Regions from separate parts of the Homo sapiens genome. Here regions 1 and 3 are each linked to region 2. The links are contacts of gene promoters, found by promoter capture Hi-C in blood cells and fetal thymus (Javierre and others, 2016). All regions are on one chromosome and are shown on one strand. The core of a region is centred on a gene start or on the middle of the fragment in contact, and the rest is flanking DNA. Distances in the headings are between cores, read along the strand shown.

The links. Contacts are between HindIII fragments. The CHiCAGO score rates a contact against its expected background, and 5 or more counts as called.
Region 1: a contact is called between a fragment that was not itself captured here and the fragment with the promoter of SMARCA5 in region 2, in 1 of 17 cell types (neutrophils). The highest score is 6.2, in neutrophils.
Region 3: the fragment with the promoter of NOCT here is called in contact with the fragment with the promoter of SMARCA5 in region 2 in 1 of 17 cell types (activated CD4 T cells); the score reaches 8.0 in activated CD4 T cells.

The regions. Positions count from the first base shown.
Region 1 is chr4:147,627,663-147,632,021 of GRCh38, forward strand. It overlaps TMEM184C (transmembrane protein 184C), which reads left to right. Exons shown (of 10, transcript NM_018241.3): 5 at 699-773; 6 at 1,937-2,030; 7 at 3,731-3,843. Among named protein-coding and RNA genes, the nearest start is that of TMEM184C, 12 kb to the left of the region's middle. The HindIII fragment of the contact is 985 bases long and covers 1,593-2,577 here.
Region 2 is chr4:143,512,309-143,516,527 of GRCh38, forward strand. SMARCA5 (SNF2 related chromatin remodeling ATPase 5) reads left to right here and starts at 1,394. Exons shown (of 24, transcript NM_003601.4): 1 at 1,394-1,793. The coding sequence starts at 1,617. SMARCA5-AS1 (SMARCA5 antisense RNA 1) reads right to left here and starts at 2,529. Exons shown (of 2, transcript NR_104027.1): 1 at 2,137-2,529; 2 at 1,164-1,917. RefSeq lists enhancers at 825-874, 895-984, 1,015-1,084, 1,115-1,484, 1,775-1,834 and 1 more. The HindIII fragment of the contact is 18,533 bases long and covers 1-4,219 here.
Region 3 is chr4:139,013,826-139,018,281 of GRCh38, forward strand. It overlaps NOCT (nocturnin), which reads left to right and starts at 1,956. Exons shown (of 3, transcript NM_012118.4): 1 at 1,956-2,346. The coding sequence starts at 2,157. RefSeq lists enhancers at 316-1,515, 652-1,573, 1,606-1,955 and a silencer at 2,096-2,395. The HindIII fragment of the contact is 5,482 bases long and covers 733-4,456 here.

The sequences.
Region 1 (4,359 bases), core at 835-3,334, 4.1 Mb after region 2:
AGCTACTCAGGAGGATCACTTGAGCCCAGGAGGTCAAGAGTAGCCTGGGCAACATAGTGAGACTCCCATGTCTATAGAAAATAAATTAGCCAGGTGTGGTGGTATGCAGATATAGTTCCAGCTACTCAGGAGGCTGAGGTGGGAGGATCACTTGAGCCCAGGAGGTCAAGAGTAGCCTGGGCAACATAGTGAGACCCCATGTCTACAGAAAATAAATTAGCCAGGTGTGGTGGTATGCAGATACAGTTCCAGCTACTCAGGAGGCTGAGGTGGGAGGATTACTTGAGCCCAGGAGGTCAAGAGTAGCCTGGGCAACATAGTGAGACCCCATGTCTACAGAAAATAAATTAGCCAGGTGTGGTGGTATGCAGATATAGTTCCAGCTACTCAGGAGGCTGAGGTGGGAGGATCACTTGAGCACAGAAGGTCAAGGCTGCAGTAAGCCATGTTCACACCACTGCACTCCACCCTGGGCAACAGAATAAGATCCTATATCTCAAAAAATAAAAAAGGTATTTAGATAATTTGTTTCCTGCCATCCACATTCTTCTGCCACTGCTATTAAGGATGACTACATTGAAAGAATTAACTGTAAATATGGTATCATTCATCAAAGTGATTTTAATTTGGAGGCTTTGGGGAAAATCTGATGCTATTTAAATGAGTAGTTGAAATTCTAAGTTCTTTTTCTTTTGCAGAGTATTGCTGTTTAGGTGCAAACTAGGTGTATTACAGTACACAGTTGTCAGACCTTTCACCACCATCGTTGCTTTGTAAGTACTCGGATTTTATATGAACTTTTTTTTTCATCCTTGTGATCTTATGTGGGAACAACTAAGTAGAAAACATAGTGTTAATGTGCTTATTTATAATGCAGGTCTAGTCTGTTGTAAAAAAAAACACTGTATAGAAACTCACTCTATTAAAATAAATAACATGACCATTTATAGGCAAAGAGTCACCACAGGGGTCTCCTAAATATTCACATCCTCTCCAGAGCTAGCTGGCCGTAAAGCACTTTGAAAAAAAAATACCTTCTTTTTCAGATACATAGCTTGACAGAAACCCTATTGCATGAAGTTAAAGTATGCTACTTTAGGTTAATTACAGTTCTATTTTCTACATAGTTAATTTAGAATATATTAGAAGTACTCTAAGAAAGAAGTCATATTTTCTTTTAATATATTCTATCAAGGCTTAGAATTGAGGTAAAATGGGGTATCATTAAGCTACCTGGCAAAACTATTCCCTAAAAATTCAAGAACATCAAATACTTTAATGCCAATAGATTACATGTTTTATCTCCTAGTTGTTACTAACATTTTGCATGCTCACAGAGGAAAAGTGGAAAGAAAGACTTGTGAAAGAATTCTTTATTCTGCCTTTGAGCTAGCAATTATTTAGCCATTTAATTATGAAGGCATGCTTTATTTCCCTGCAGCTTAGAAATTGGGTAAGATTATAACAATACTGATGGTCATACTTACTTGAGGGGATCTGGGTCTTCATAAAATTTACCTCCAAGACAATTGAGGGGAAAAAATTAACAACTACAGTTATATACACCTGCATTATATTATGTTTAACAATCAAGCTTTCCCAAAATTAGACAGCATAGTTGTTTTTTTTTAAATTTAGTACTCTTTCTAGTTAAGTGTTATGTGTCTTATTTGGGATTTCCTTCAAGTTGAAGGAATATAGTAATATTTCTAGAAAAAAATGGGTTTTTCATTTTTGAACCACCTCTAGATCCAAAGTCAAGTGATTGTCAATGGATCTCTCAAATAAACTGACTTCTAAATTCTCTGTGTCCAAAGTCAAGTGATTGTCAGTGAGATCTCAAATAAACTGACTTCTAAATTTAAGTATTGCTATTGCTGTATTTTGAAGTACGATTTTGATTTAATCAGAGATATCTCATTTTTACTATTTTTAGAATCTGTGAGCTGCTTGGTATATATGACGAAGGGAACTTTAGCTTTTCAAATGCTTGGACTTATTTGGTTATAATAAACAACATGTCACAGTTGGTAAGTAAAATGTTCACTTTTCTTAAACTGTACTAAATTCGTATCTATAACTAAATTTCTTTAGACAAAGTTTCTTCTTAGGATAAGGCTTGCTTCTTTTTAATCTTCCTATAAATTAAATCTGAAATTTAATTTATAGAAAGACTTGAAAAAAATTTAATATATATCTTAATACATATATAAAGATATAATAACATCTTTGTTTATTATTTGGCAACTTATACCCTCACATGTTGACCATGTTTGTTCATTTATTTCTGTTGCTCATTGCATAGCTGTATGAGTATGTCATAAATAAAAGCACAGTGCTACATAAAAAAAAAAATACACACACACGCCCACATATACTGAACATATTCAGAAGAGAAAATATCAAATTGGTATTTGATGGTACAGGGTTTGAATAAAAATGTGAGAATAAAATTCTCTGTTATCATATATTTGAAGTTAAAGGAAAATTGAGAATGCCAAGTTTAAAAAAATGGATGATGTTCTAGAAACTGTATGTTCCAAAGACCTATGATGTAATGTCCTATTTGATCTTACAAGCTTAAAAAAATGTGCATTTTATTTAAATTCTTTGACTAATGCTGTCAGCAAAATAATTTAGATGCAGTGGTATGCATGGTTGGTATTAGAGCTTTATAATAAAAATTAAATGTCCATGTAGCTAAAGTTTTCCCACATGTTCATCCTCTTTGGAACCAGTAATTCTGTTTCTGGGAATGTATTCTAAAGAAGTGTTCAAAAGTATGTTTGCCTAAAGTATCTTTGTATATAAAGCCCATTACTTGTAAATAACAAAAGGCTGAAAGCAATCCAAAACCCAATGTTAGGGACTAGTTGAATGCACTGTGGTCTTTCCATTGGCCAAAATATTAGGCAGTTACTAAAAATAAGCCTGATGAAACATATAGAAGTTATGTATTTTAAGTGGAAAAAACATTAGGCAATAAAATTTTATAATTAGTTCATGACAGTTATTTAAAAACTGGCTTATGTGTAAAAAGGATGATTGGACACCATGAATCACTTTATTCTTTCTTTCTTTACTGGTTTCATATTCTAAAATACTTTGAATTTGCATTTTATATGATTTTAATAGGGAATAGTGAACTTTCAGGAAAATGTTTATTGTTATTCAGCACTACACTAGGTTATTACAGATTTCTAAAAAGTTAGTAAGTCTTGTTCATTTTAAAAAATAAATCTAGCTGAACTAATACACCGCTCTCAGGAAAAATTGTTTGATTCTTTACATTCAGATTTCATAGTCACAATTTTATTGAAATTGTACTTGTTTAATGGGTTACTTTAGTTACATAGGATAGACTAGGTAATAAGCTAAAGCCTCATAAAATGAGTGGTCAGAAATTTATGTTTAAAAGCCGTTACAGATGGATTTTTTTATTTTGGCTGAACAAGAGCCATTTCTTCCATTTATGTCAATCATTTGTTTATTGTTCCCTTTATGGAACCCAGGAAGTGAACACTTAAAAACATTTTTACGGAAGATGTTGTATGTAGTATATATTCATCTATAGTAAACTATGAAAGCTTGTTAATCTAAAAATAGAATAATAAAGCCTAGAAAAGTTTGCCTGAAACATTACTCTGTACCAGGTCTCTGGTATGTAACTTTAATATTTCTATTACCATATCTATTACTGAACAAGTTTAAATGTTAATCTTGTTTCTAGTTTGCCATGTATTGTCTCCTGCTCTTTTATAAAGTACTAAAAGAAGAACTGAGCCCAATCCAACCTGTTGGCAAATTTCTTTGTGTAAAGCTGGTGGTTTTTGTTTCTTTTTGGTAAGTGTTACTTTTTTTTAAATGTTCTCATTTTTTTAAGGGCAGTAAAAACCGTTGATTAAGGAGGATTTTTAAACAGTCTTAATGCGGAAGATAGATTAAAATGTCTCTACTTCTCTTTTTAAAAGTTCATCTTTTTAGCCCTTCTACAATTTTCAAAAGAAATAATTAGATGGTCGCTGTAACATTTATATGAAGAAAATAGTTTGAGACAACCTAAATATGTCAATACTAGAATAATTATTAAAATAAATCATGGCCCTGTCATATAATAGAATACTATGGAGTTTGGAAGAAAGCATGATGTAGAATATTTAATTATATGGGAAAATAATCAGTAAATCTTTTTAAAACAGAAGGTAAAACTATACATAGTTCAATATAGTAAAGAGGGCCGGGCACAGTGGCTCACGCCTGTAATCCCAGCACTTTGGGAGGCCAAGACAGGTGGATCACCTGAGGTTGGGAGTTCCAGACTAGCCTGGCCAACATGGCTAGTCTCTACTAAAAATACAA
Region 2 (4,219 bases), core at 144-2,643:
TCATATATGAAGACTATGATGAACATCATTGTAGGTATTCATCTTTGCATATATCCTTAGACATTTCCTTATAGTCTAAGAACTAGCATTTCTAGTGGAGTGGGGACATTTTTCCAGATGTCCATTTAAGAATTATCATTCCATTAGTTAAAAAATTTGCAGGCTATATATTCAAAGGGGATCCCTTCTGTTTGGAATTCAACATAACCAGTTAGCTCAAACCTCAACTCTCGAAAAATGTGTCTCCTTTACTCAACAAACATTTAGAGAATACTGAATATGAGGAATAAAAAAAGATAAAAAAGACCCTGTACTGGGCAGGTAATCTACTGTAGTATGCAGATTCGTTATCAAACAGACTACAATGTATTTAAATTTTGTAGGCGATGAATGCACAAGGCCCTTAAGCTGCATTGAAGGCTGCCTAAGGCAGTATACAAAATCAGTGCTGAATATTTGTTAACACTTAAGGAGAATGTACGTTTTAATTTTCATGTTTGATGCTTGGGGAAAAGATTACATCGCACCACCTATCTTCCCCATATATTGATTATTCGTGTTTCTCACTTCCATGGTAGTGTGCACGTTATTTGCTTAACTTTGGCATATAAATTCAGAAGAAATATCATTTAACTCTGTGCCTAAGGAGGGTATTTAGAAATAACCGACGCAGCTAACATGAGAAGGCAAAAAAAAAAAAAAAGAAAAAAGAAAAAAATCACACTAACGGACTTTTTTTTTTTTTCTAACAACAAAAAACCGTGAGACTTCACTTGGGGTAACCATAACGTCGTCAAGGCTGTGGCGTCACGCCTCTAAGCGGATACGGCAGAAGTTTTGGGGCCAGACACAAGACTTCCAAGTTTGAATGGGCAGCGCAAAACCCAGACAAGTTTTCCGGTAGTGCCGCCAACCCCTGTCAGGCACAGAAGACACAGCGAGAACCGTGAGCCGTTACGAAAGCCTAAAACACTGAGCTCGCGTCCTGCCAAGCAGCAGGCGCACAAACCTACACCTCCGAGCGCTCCCTGGAGGTCCCGCCCACTCTTCTCTCCCGAGCCGGCTAGAGATCTGGAAGAGGGCGGGCCAAGGGTGAGGAGGGCAGTATGCGCATGCGCGCTCAGGACCCAGTCAGTGAGCCAATAAGGAATCTCGCGAGTGTTGAAAGTCGGTGGCGTAGGTCGTCGTCCTGGATGCTGGCGAGATAGATGTTATCTTCCAGAGGAAGAGGAGGAGGCGGCGAAGCGTTTTCCCAGCCTCAGTCTCTCTTTCGTTTTCCTTTTCCCTTCCCCCAACCCTCCGCCCTTCTCTAAATCAGCCGGCCTTCCTTGACCTCAGTGACCCGTCTGGCCCCGCCCACCCTCGTCGACGTGATTCCCGCCGTGAGGTAAGCGCCGGTGGAACCTAGAGCCCCGCGGAAGAGCAGAACGTTTGGGAGTGTGCAGCTCCTGGGCCCGGCTCAGGCCCGTCGCGGAGGCGCGGCGCAGGGGAGCGCTCGGGTGGGAGTCTCGCTCCTCCACCAGTTTATTGCGACGTAGCATCCAGGCCTAGGCCTCCCCGTCCATCCCCGCCGGACTCGGGCCTCTGGCAGCAGCGGGTGACGCAGACGGAACATCATGTCGTCCGCGGCCGAGCCTCCGCCACCCCCGCCTCCCGAGAGCGCGCCTTCCAAGCCCGCAGCCTCGATCGCCAGCGGCGGGAGCAACAGCAGCAACAAAGGCGGCCCCGAAGGCGTCGCGGCGCAGGCGGTTGCGTCTGCGGCCAGCGCTGGTCCCGCAGACGCCGAGATGGAGGTGAGGGCGACTTGCGGCATGGGGAGCGGGTGCAGCGGGGAGGAGGAGCTGGCTCCCTCGCCGGATCGTGGCGATCGGACGCAGAGCCGGGTTTCTCTCTCTGCACCAGACTCAGCTTCACACCCTGTGGATACGAAATGATGCTCTCACTCTTGCTCCCTTGTTCTTACCCTATTCGAGCTAAGCAAAATGGATTTCTGGCTCCTCACATTTAAATTATTTGTCTCTTTCGTGAATCCTGACAAATATTTGAACGCTCTCAGTGAACAGATGTTCTTGGTTACCGTGGCCCGGGGGACCCATCGTTTTTTTCCCACTAGACTCCCATAATTCCCTCTCCTACCTCTGAATGTGGTTTTTAGTTTCCACCAAACTTCGGGGAAGGGCGAGGAGATGACCCCTTAGGAGCGGGATGCACGGGCGGGGTGAAGGAGGCATTTAAAAGCAGCGCGTCCGAGGACTTGGGCCTCCTTTTCTTCTTCCCGGTCCTTGCAGGGGCGGTATCTGTTGTGGGCAGAAACAATGGCGAGAGCTGGATGGCCGAGTGCGCAGTGGGGATAAGCGGGGCGCAGCTGCTTCTGTGAAGGGAGAGAAGGCCCCTCCCAGGCACTATTCCACTGGAAGGGAAGCAACCAAGGCAGCAGCAGCTGTCTCGGATCCCCCGTCTAATTTAGGGGGGATGAATAAGTGTAGGAATGAATTAGAGAACCAGGCGCAGTTGGTTGGCTCTCAGTCCGGCACTTTTCTCTTTTTGGCCTCTGGCCTTAAGAAAAAAAAAAATTAGTACCACTCGCTGCCGAGACTTATGGGTTTGGGTTGGGCAGGGGATGCTGACAGTACTGAGGGGGCTGGAAAGATGGGGGAAGCTGCCAGGCGGGTAAATTGGATATGCTTCCAGGCTTTGCATCTGGGAACAAAGTAATTGCTCCTTCCAATTTTTATTTTCTTGGCCTTCGACCTGTTTTGAGATATTTTGTGAGTCGGAGCCCAAAGATTTCTGGGATTTTCCTATCCTTAGACAGAATGAAAGTAATACTGCTCCGAAGATGAGTCTTGATGCAGAATCATTATACAGTAAGAAAATGGTAGCGTAATTTACCATTGAGGCTTTTGGCACAGTAGTTATATTTGGGTAGCTGGGGTTAAGTAACATTAATGTTAGTAATCATTTAAAGAACTTTTAGTGGTGAGGGTAGGTTTAGTGACATAGGAACTCCTGATAGTTCCTGTAGTTTTGAGTGATTAAGATAAGATTACTTCCAAATTAAAATATATTCAGTGTTGCTTTTTTTTCCTTAAGGAAATGGTTCTTTTGGGTTACTAGGGCTCTTTAACTTGGATTTCTGTTCCAAGGCTTAAGGGGTTTGACACAAAGCAATTATGTGTAAATGTGCAGTTCTCTACAAAAATTGTTTATAGTTTTTCCTCAGCTTCTCAAAGGGGTCTGCCATCCAAACTTTGGAAAAATGAATGTTTCACCAGAGGTCTTATTAATATCTGAATGCAGAGTAATTTTAAGCCTAAAGCAAGTCAACATTTTTGACTTGAAGTTGCTATTTTAAATGAAAATTGATTTTAAGTTCAAACGTGAGTATAGATGTTATCACTACCGTATTAAATTAGTGATATTTTCATTTGCCAGATGGGGAAATTGAGTTCTACTAGGTAGAACCTGTAATAAAACTCGGATCTGCCTTTAAAAGTGAGCCGTTTCCCACCCATCTTGCTCTGCCATGTTCTTACCAAAAAAAACATATTTGGCGGTTCAATTTATTGAATAACATTGTTATTTTTACCTTCCTAGTATAGAAATATTAGGAATTTTATTTTTTTATCCATCTTATCACTGACACATTTTTTTTTTGGTTGACATTATAGTGTGATTTTTTTTTTTGTCTTTTAAAATGTCAGTTTCCTGTTTAACAAAATTCAGAATTACTGCAATTCATGATATAAACTAAGTTTGAGCACACATGCTTAATATATATGTCACAACTTAATCTGTTTTGCACTTGGAAAATGAATATTTTATAAATGACTTTTTCTTGTTTGGAAGTATGATCTAAGGTGTTTTTCTAAACAGAGTAAACCCAGCATTCATGAATTTTTTTTTTTTTTTTTTTTTGGTGACAAAGCTGATTTTCCCAGAAATAGCCTTCCTATGTATTCAGTTACTTTTTTTCTTTTTGCTTGATACTAATAGGTCAATGGAGCACTTGTTTTTTAGTTATCCTTTTGGCAGTGTGGAACTCTTCTGTGTTCATCCTCATCTCTATTGACTAGATTGATTAAATAGTCACCTGTATACCAATAATGTGATGTCAAGATGCCTGAAGCACATTTTATTTTTGTAGGTTGCATTTCATGGCATTTTGGAATTTTGTAAACTGGACTGGGTAGGTGGCTTTGTCACTTACATATGTAGA
Region 3 (4,456 bases), core at 706-3,205, 4.5 Mb before region 2:
AACCCACCAAAAGGAACAATTGTTTTTTCTTCCCCTCCTTGTAAGACCAAAAATGTAACCACCTGAACAGACCCTTTCACAAGATAATGTGCAAGTTCATCCCTGTGCCCTGATCCATTCACTTTCCCTAGTCATCTCCTCAACAGAATGCCTCTGCTCCCCTCTCCCCAAGTCTGTTGGCCAGGATGGTAGACAAGCTTCTGAACCCCGTTGGGGGTGTGTAATCACTCTGTGATTCTCCCCATGTACATGTTAATAAATGCATATGCCTTTTCTCCCATTAATCTGCCTTTTGTGAGTTGATTTTTCAGCAAACTTCAGAGGGCAAAGGGAACATTTTTCCCATGGTCCCTATACCCATATATACCCACTACCTAGATTCAAAATCAACATTTTGCTATATTTGCAAAACACTTTTCATAGGCTAATTTTATTATCACCTTTTTAAAAAAATTCTTTTTACAAGTACTGCTCCTTGTGGAGCAGGACTACTCGATAGACAGTGTGCCCAGAGTAGCTTATTATCATTTTTTATTTCACCTAATGACTAAGGTATGATTCTATGTTTTATAGATAAGGAAACTGAAACTGAGGCTTTAATGACTTCCAAGGAGCTTGTCTGCCAGAAGTTGTAATCAACTTGTGCCAGCTGATCTGTCCACACCCTCTATCCACAGGTGTTAGATATGTAACCTAGGTCTGAAAAATATTTAGAATATTCTTGTGATGAAAAGCTTGCAATTCCACAACACAGGGGAATCAGCAAAATCATGGGAAAACCAATAGAATACATTTCTAACTCATGAATCATTCAGAGAAAAATCCAGTCTTGGGTTTTCCCTCCCCCTCATCCCATTTCTATTCCTGATTAGTCATCATTTCCTGCCCAGCCTGTCTGAGATGTTTCTTCCATCCTTTCTTTTCCAGTAACAGTAACCTGGTGCGGGTCTACAGTATCTGTTATCTCAGCTGATTTCCTTTCTGCCTTTTCATGAACCAGAGACATGTGATTTCCAATTAAAGCACAGCCCTGACCATGTCTTTGCTCAGCTTACAAAACGTCAACGGCTCGCAGCTATCCACCGAATTAAGCCTACTATAATCCCCTTCCTTCCACACTACAACCTATCCACGCATCTGTCCTCTTACTCCTTAGCTTCCATCTTACATGACTAAGAGTTGTTTCCCCAAATACACCCTTATTTACTTTTTTCATTTATAACTCACCACCACCCCCTCCAAAGTTTCACGTGGGTAAATTCTAGACCTCCACGTCATAGGCCAACTCAAATGCCAATCCTTCTAATGAACCTTCTAGAGAGCCCGGGCCTGTTGTCATCTCTATAGCCAATCTTTGGCATCTTGTGGCAATAATCTCATTCTACCTTGTAGAGCTTTCTGGTCTGACTTCCCTTGCCACCTTCTGCTCCCTTTGCCTAAGTATAACACTTTTGAGGAAAAGAACGCTGTTTTAATCATCGTCGCCTCGCCCACAGGCGGTGCTTTATTGTGCTTAATATCGTTTAACGCATCACACACTGCCGAGGGGGTCGGAGGCGGACGCCTTTTGCTGTATCCACACAGACCCGCGCAGGCACACACGTAGGCCGTCTGCCACTCTGACAGACACGTGTCCCCTGGGCCACAGCCCTGGAACTGTCTCGGGATTCCCAGCCTGTGGGCGCTTCCATGCTGGCCAGCGGAAGGGGACGCTTTTTTCTTCAGAACAGCTCCAACGGATACCTCTTATTTTAGACCGCCTGCGGATTCTATCTATAAATCAGCCTAAGCCCCGCTTCCTTTTAAAACAGGATTACGCCGGGTCGAGGGAGCCTGGCGTGGCCGCGCAGTGGCCGGGTCCCGCGGATTCCCCTCCAGCTCCCGCTTGGTAGCGCCCGCTTTGTCAGCGCGCAGCGCTCGCCGGGCGCCCTGCAGGTCTCGCCAGGTCTCACAGCAGACGGTGCCGACGCAGCGGTGTTGCACCTCCCTCTCCGGCTCTGCTGCCCGGGATTTCCCCAGAACCTGCGCCGCGCGAGAAGGAGCCTGGGAGCATCCGCCCACACTGCCCGGACAGTCGGCTCGACTCGGTGCCCTCGGCCCCAGCCGGGCTCCGCTCCTCGGGCGCGCGAGGGGCCGTGGTGGCGGCGGCGCCCGGCATGTTTCATAGTCCGCGGCGGCTCTGCTCGGCCCTGCTGCAGAGGGACGCGCCCGGCCTGCGCCGCCTGCCCGCCCCAGGGCTGCGCCGCCCGTTGTCCCCGCCGGCTGCTGTTCCCAGGCCCGCATCCCCCCGGCTGCTGGCGGCGGCCTCGGCGGCCTCGGGCGCCGCGAGGTCGTGTTCCCGAACAGGTGAGTGCACCCCAGTTCCGGGCGGAGAACGCCACGGCCGCCAACGCGCGGCCGCCACCTGGAGACCGCGCGGAATGAATGAGAAGCCCGGGGCTGCCGGTCGTGGAGTCTGGCCTGAAAGTGGGTCCTTTACCGGAGCAACCTTCTGCGTTCCCTTTTTCCTCTTTCCCTGTTCCCCGACTTGCCTGGGGCTTGCATCAAAGCTAGTAAGAACTGGGAGACTGTATTCAGGTTCCCGCTTGACCCTTAGAGGCCATGCTTTCAGAATTTCTTGTTCTTGACCGTTAAATTTCCCCCTTCCGAGGCCGCGAGTTACTATGTTGGTTACATTTTTTATTGCACGACTTAACGGAAATTTTTATGGAAAAAAAAATCTAAATGATGCTTATTTGCTTATATAGCTTTCATGGTCTAGATATTAAGTTTTTTTTTTAAGTCGTGATAATAACACATTGATTCGTTTTACGTTGTTTTTTTTTTTTTTTTTTTTTTTTTTTTTTGAGATGGAGTCTCACTGTGTCACCCAGGCTGGAGTCCAGTGGCACGATATCGGCTTACCGCAACCTCCCGCTCCCGGGTTCAAGCGATTCTCCTGCCTCAGCCTCCCGAGTAGCTGGGATTACAGGCGCCAGTCACCACGCCTAGCTAACTTTTGTATATTTAGTAGAGACGGGGGTTTCACCATTTTGGCCAGGCTGGTCTTGAACTCCTGACCTCGTGATCCACCCGCCTCAGCCTCCCAGAGTGCTGGGATCACAGGCGTGAGCCACCGCGCTCGGCCATTTTACGTTTCTTTGGATTTTTTTTTTTTGGAGGCTTCCACTCTTTATAGTTAACATCATTTTTTGTCCTGTGTATCTAAGATCTTGTAAAAGTGAGGCCTTAGTTTCACCAAGAGCTGTTTTCATACATCATAATAACTACCCTGAGTTTTCCTTTTTTGCTACCTCTGTTTCTGCCTGGGCACACATTACCATGGCCACAAATTACATACAAATTAATTATACTTTAAAAATTGATAAATTTTTTCTTTCAAAACTAGGCAATACATAACTTTTTTTTTTTTTTTTTTTGAGACGGAGTTTTGCTCTTATTTCCCAGGCTGGAGTGCAATGGCGCGATCTCGGCTCACCGCAACCTCTGCCTCCCGGGTTCAAGCGATTCTCCTGCCTCAACCTCCCGAGAAGCTGGGATTACAGGCATGCGCCACCGCGCCAGGCTGATTTTTGTATTTTTAGTAGAGATGGGGTTTCTCCATGTTGGTCAGGCTGGCCTCGAACTCCCTAGCTCAGGTGAACCTCCCGCTTTGGCCTCCCAAAGTGCTGGGATTACAGGCGTGAGCCACCGCCCCCCCGGCCTATAAAATTTAAAAAAATAGGCCGGGCGCGGTGGCTCACGCCTGTAATCCAGCACTGTGGGAGGCGGAGGCGGGTAGATCACCCGAGGTCAGGAGTTCGTGACCATCCTGGCCAATGGGCTTGGGCGTGGTGGCACTCGCCTGTAATCCCAGCTACTCTGGAGGCTGAGGCAGGAGAATCACTTGAACCTGGGAGGCGGAGTGTTGCAGTGAGCCGAGATCGCACCATTGCACTCCAGCCTGGGTGACAAGAGTAAAACTCCGTCTCAAAACAAAATTAATAAAAATTTTAAAAAATGTATATATTTTAAAAATGGTCATCTGGAATGTGATTGAAGCCAAGACTTTAAACTATTCGCATTGTTGGCAGATATTTAGGTATTTCCCAATCTAGTATCAAACTCCTGGCCTCGAGTTATCCTCAGACTCTGGAGCAGTTGAGATTTGCAGGTGGAAGCCACCATGCCCAACTTAGTCATTTTAAAATTAGGATGTTGAATTGGTTGCTGGAGATTCTGAACTATATTGTTCCTTAGAGTGAACTTGACAGTTAGATTCCCCACCCCCACCCCCAATTTCGTAGGAATGTGGTACATTGTGAAATAACTGCCAGAATGAGTATATTGCCTGATAACTTTTTTCTTGCTGGAAATTTTAAGAACAACATTGTTAGAGGTTTGAGGTAGGAAAAGTAAAAGAAAACCAGGTGATGTCTTCTGTACCAGCTTATATCTTAAATTCCCTCAAAGTCTC